2 separate regions of the Homo sapiens genome follow, and region 1 is linked to region 2. Evidence: promoter capture Hi-C in human tissues and cell types (Jung and others, 2019). All regions are on one chromosome and are shown on one strand. The core of a region is centred on a gene start or on the middle of the fragment in contact, and the rest is flanking DNA. Distances in the headings are between cores, read along the strand shown.

Region 1 (2,700 bases), core at 2-2,501, 530 kb before region 2:
GGCGATGGTTGAATTATTATCACTCATCCATAGGAAAGACTGCCGTGCAATTGTGAAAATGGGAGGAGGACTGTGTCTACACGTGCCTCTGGAGTGATTGCACAGACCACTCTGAACAGAGCAAGGTGGAGGAAATCTTCCATTTTTCCAGTACAGGCAGGAAATAGGGACCCATCCCTCTGTCTATCTATTTACTATCTTTATTCCCATCCATCTATTATCTATCTATGTTTCTACCATTCATCATCTATGTACTACCTAACTACTTGCCTACCTGTTCTCTATCATCTATCTACCATCAATCAATCTATCTCTCCCTATCTGCTTCCATTCTAAAAATAAACAGTGTGAGCACAGTCCACAGGGAGGGGGCTGGAAGTCTCTGGGGGAAGACACAAGTCCTTGTTGCACATGCCCTGTTTTCTAGATTTGACTATGAAACCATGCAAATATTTTACATCCTTATAAAACACAATTAACTTTAAAAAGCAATGTCTAAATACCAAAAATAAAATAAGACAAATGAACCAAATGTGTATCCATTTGGTAGCCTGACTAACCAGAGGGGAGCTATTCCAATTGACTTTAAAACGTAGGAATTTAAAAGTAACTACTAGTGGAAAATGCACTAAGGGCAAAAAGAACAGAGAAAGAAAGGAAAGGAAGAAAGGAAGGAAAGGAAGAAAGAAAGAAAGGAGGGAGGGAGGGAGAGAGAGAAAGAGAGAGAAAGAGAAAGAAAGCAAGAGAGGGAGGGAGAAAGAAAGAGAGAGGAGAGGAGGAAAGAAAGAAAGGAAGGAAGGAGGGGAGGGAGGAGAGGGAGGAAAGGAAGGAAGGAAGGAAGGAAGGAAGGAAGGGAGGGAGGGAGGGAGGGAGGGAAGGAGGGAGGGAGGCATCTTAACCCCTTTCCCACAATCACACTATTGGCTGAGTGTTGATGTTATCCTGAGACTGCCCTGTGTGTGTTGAAGCATAAAGGAAATGTGATATAGAAACTCTATCATTAGCTCTATGGTAAAGAACTGAGATTTTTGGCATGAGAAAATAAAAGTTAAGAAGCTGTAATTTAAAAGAAAAATATTGGCCAGACACAGTGCCTCATGCCTGTAATCCCAGCACTCTGGAAAGTGGGAGGATCACTCAAGCCCAGGAGTTCAAGACTAACCTGGGCAACAGAGTGAGACCCCGTCTCCCCCCAAAATAAACAAAATTAGCGAACATGGTGGCATGCACTTGTGATCCTGGATATTTTGGAGGCTGAGGTGGGAGGATTGCTCGAGCCCAGGAGTTTGAGGCTGCAGTCAGCCATGATCACAACACTGCACTCCAGCCTGGGCAACAAAGTGAAACCTTGTCTCAAAAAAATAAAAAATCATAAAAGACAAGGAAAATATCAGCACGAAATAATAATTAAAATCAATAAAAATGGATAATGCAAGCATTCTATTAATTAGGCTCATTATCATAATGTAAATACATATTTGGGGAACTTGTTCCTCCAAACAGCAATGCTCTCTCTTCCTCCTCTACACTTTATGCCAACTAATTTTACATAAATGGGAAACTGTCATTTCTACCAAAGCGAGCTGCACTGTGTTTCTTGGGGTGAACCTTTAGGGAGACAGCCATTGTGAGAATGAAAGGGGAAATATATTATTGAAAGTTTACTTACAGTTTTTAAAAATGCCTATTTCCTCCCTGTTTTCTCCCACCCTCCAAGTTTATTAGTTACCTCTATCCACTAGCAATGGACAGATTTTCATGATTTAATTATTTTTACTATCAATTTTAAAAGTCAGCAAAACATATTTACTTTTTAACAATATATCATTTTAAAAGGGTACAGAGTTGCAGTTACATAGGACGACTAAGTCTAGAGGTCCAGTGCAGAGCCTGAGGACTGTACTTAACAATTCTGTGCTGTACCCCGGAAATTTACCAAGAGAGATTTCAGGTGCTGTCACCACACAAACACACAAAACGCAACCGTGGGGAGGTGGACATGTTCATATGCTTGACCGTAGTAACTTTGCTGTGAGTATCTCTATCAACACATCATGTTACACAATGTAAATATATGCCTTTTTTTTTTTTTTTTTTTTTTTTGAGATGGAGTCTTGCCCTTGTCGCCCAGGCTGGAGTGCAATGGCATGATCTCCGCTCACTGCAACCTCCGCCTCCCAGGTTCAAGCAATTCTCCTGCCTCAGCCTCCCACATAGCTGGGATTACAGGCGCCTGCCACCACGACCAGCTAATTTTTGTATTTTTAGTAGAGACAGGGTTTCACCATGTTGGCCAGGCTGGTCTCGAACTCCTGACCTGGTGATCTGCCCACCTCGGCCTCACAAAGTGCTGGGATTACAGGCGTGAGCCACCATGCCTGGCCACCATTTTTATTTTTAAAATGATAAAACAAAACACATTGCTGAACCAAGAAAAGAATTGAGATGATCGTGCAAATAATGATGCATACTATATTTGGGAAAAATAAAAGTTATGAAACAGTAGCAGGTCCAAGTTATATACGCAACTGTGTAAAATGTGTTCTTTAAAAATCAGGGTTTCTGTGCTTTCAGCAACCTACACATGTTCTGACTTGTGATCTCAAGGTCTGGGAGACATGTGTGGTGAAATCACACACACCTGCCCCAGCAGAGGGGTCACTGGACGTCTTCATGCGCTGCAGGGAACTCAGATGAAAG
Region 2 (2,725 bases), core at 176-2,675:
GTTTGACCAACAAAACCTTGCCCCTTTGTTTTAAATGAAAACCGTGACAGGAGAGGCACACGCCATAGAGATCATTGCAACGCATGCTGCCTGCTTTTCACTTTTTTCTGCATCTCCCCTTCCTGAATTGTTGAGCATGTCCCACCCTCCCGGGACATCCTTCAGTCCCCAATATTTTCATGTTTCAGGCAAGCCTCTATGTCTGTATGTGCAGCAGAAGTTCACTGCGTTTCATTAACGAACTGAGTATTTCCTTAGGAAAATGGCAATCACGTGCAGTGTCTTACATTCCCTTCTCTTGCTCCCAGTCCGTAATTGCTTATCCTCCTGGCATCCAAACTTCGCTCACACTGGAATCAGCTGCAGAGCTTTAAAAATGACTGACGTTGGCTGGGCATGGTGGCTTACACCTGTAATTCCAGCACTTTGGGAGGCCAAGGCAGGAGGATCACTTGAGGCCAGGAGTTTGAGACCAGCTTGGCCAACATAGCGAAACTCCATCTCTACTAAAAATCCAAAAAATTAGCTGGGCATGGTGGTGCATGCCTGTAATCCCAGCTACTTGAAGCCGAGGCACAAGAATTGCTTGAACCCAGGAGGCGGAGGTTGCAGTGAGCTGAGATTGTGCCACTGCACTCCAGCAGTGAGTGACAAAGCAAGGCTATCTCAAAACAAAACAGCTGAGGCCTGGATCTTGCCTGGAGATGCCCTGATGTAACTGGTGTGCCCCAAGCATTAGGATTTTTAAAGCTCTCCAGGTGATTCTAATGGGCTGCAAGTTCGGGAACCACTGCCTTTGACCCTGCTCAGAAGACACCCAGATAAAAGCCATGCCCTCATTCCTTCAAACTTGGGTTAATGGAGCAGCCACACCCCATGGCAGGGTTGCTATGCAATGGCTAAATGAACCTTGTGCCTGCCGGTATTGACAGTGTTCTGAAGTCAGGGTTTTTCTCCTGCATCTTTCCTTTTTCTTTGTAAATGTGGAACAATGCATAAAGACCTATATTGTAATTTAGAAATCTCCAGCAAAGATGGCTATGGGGTCATAGGGGATGGGCTCAGGCTCAAACCCTGATTTCAACACAGACTGGGCAGGGCTGCCTTGGATAAGTTGTTAACTTTCTCTGAGCCTCGGTTTCCTTGTCTGTGAAATGGGGACAATAAAGACCCACTTCAAAGGGCTAGCGCAGGAAAAAGTGTATATGTGACAGGTGGCCATTATTAAATGAATGCAGAATCCCCCCTTATCCTGGATCCCTTCCCTTCACGCCCACCCTGCCACCGGGGCAGTCAGGGCAGTACTCACACAGGCCCACGTACTCCTCAGCAGAGCTGGAGGACAGCAAGGCCAGGACCAGCCCCAGCATGCAGAGCGCTCTGGCAGCCATGACCACCGTGGGCTCCGGGACGCAGCTCAGGACTCGCTTCATGGTCCAGGAGGCCTCATTTATGCACCGTTGTTTGCACAGCTGCTCTGGATTGTTTGCTTGGGGAAGGCTCTCCCTCCTGGCTGTGGCTGCTCCTGTTCTCTCCTGCATGCCTTTGTCAAGCTCCCAGACAGTTTTTCTCTCCCAAAGGGGAGAGGTCAGTTCAGCCCCCACTGTTTTGGCAGCAAGCGGTAAGGGCGGATTCCAGTTCTGGTTCCGGGTCCTCTACTGGGGAGCGGATGTGTGTCAATTGCCCTCCTAGCCTGGCCTGGTGTAGTGTGCAGGAGCCATGTGGGGTGGCAGGACCAGGGTGTGGTGTCCGTTCCATCTCAGCCTCCCAGCCAGAAGCCCTCAGAACACCCCTGGTCCCATGACAAGAGAGCCCCAGGCTGCTTCATCCCAGATCGGCCTCGGAGACAGGCAGCTCTGAGTGAGTCAGGACCCTGCGGCTCTCTCACAACTCCTGAAACACAGAGATTCCTTGTCTTTCCTTTTTGCTTTCTCCCCTAAAAATTAGTAACTACATTTTAATAAGTGGATGAAATGAATTGATTGAAAATATGTTAGTAAAAACATGGTACACATAATTGATTTTTAAAATCAAATAATACAAAAGAGCCTTTCCTATCCAGAGGCATCTATTGATCTATTGTGAACACTTTTTTAGGTATCCTTTCAGAATTTTTCTCTCTGGATCTAAGCACGTTTTTTTGGTTTGTTTTTGTTTGTTTGTTTGTTTTGTTTTTTTTTTGTTTTTTTTTTGTTTTTTTTTTTTGGAGACAGGGTCTTGCTCTGTTACCCAGGCTGGAGTGCAGTGGCACAATCTCAACTCACTGAGACCCCCGCCCTCGCGGGGCTCAAGTGATCCTCCCACCTCAGCCTCCTAAGTAGCTGGGCCACAGGCATGTGTCCAGCTAATATTTTGTATTTTTTTAGAGACCAGGTGTCGCCATGTTGGCCAGGCTGGTCTCAGACTCCTGGACTCAAGTGATCTGCCTTCCTTGGCCTCCCAAAGTGTCAGGATTACAGGCATGAGCCACTGCACTCGGCCACATTTTTAACACAAACAGGAACTGACTCTCCACCTTTGCCCAGCGTGCTCTTTTAAAAACTAAAGACTACATCTCAGGAATTGTTTTATAACAACATATCAGATGAGACAGCGATGATTCTATCCATTTTCCAGAGGAAGAAACTAAGACTCAACATTTCCGGTGCCTATCAGAGGTTACTCCAGTGTCCCTGGTATAGCTGGTATTTAACCCACTCCCAGGACCCTAAGCCTCCGCCCTCGG

Evidence for each region. The method cuts DNA at HindIII sites, captures the fragments that hold promoters and counts their contacts. A contact is called where the count stands out against the background at its distance.
Region 1: a contact is called between a fragment that was not itself captured here and the fragment with the promoter of TFF3 in region 2, in 4 of the 25 tissues and cell types used here (heart left ventricle, small bowel, spleen and 1 more).

The regions. Positions count from the first base shown.
Region 1 is chr21:41,780,165-41,782,864 of GRCh38, forward strand. No RefSeq gene overlaps it. Among named protein-coding and RNA genes, the nearest start is that of RIPK4, 14 kb to the left of the region's middle. The HindIII fragment of the contact is 9,090 bases long and covers 1-2,700 here.
Region 2 is chr21:42,313,984-42,316,708 of GRCh38, forward strand. It overlaps TFF3 (trefoil factor 3), which reads right to left and starts at 1,426. Exons shown (of 3, transcript NM_003226.4): 1 at 1,310-1,426. The coding sequence starts at 1,391. RefSeq lists an enhancer at 2,526-2,725. The HindIII fragment of the contact is 18,141 bases long and covers 1-2,725 here.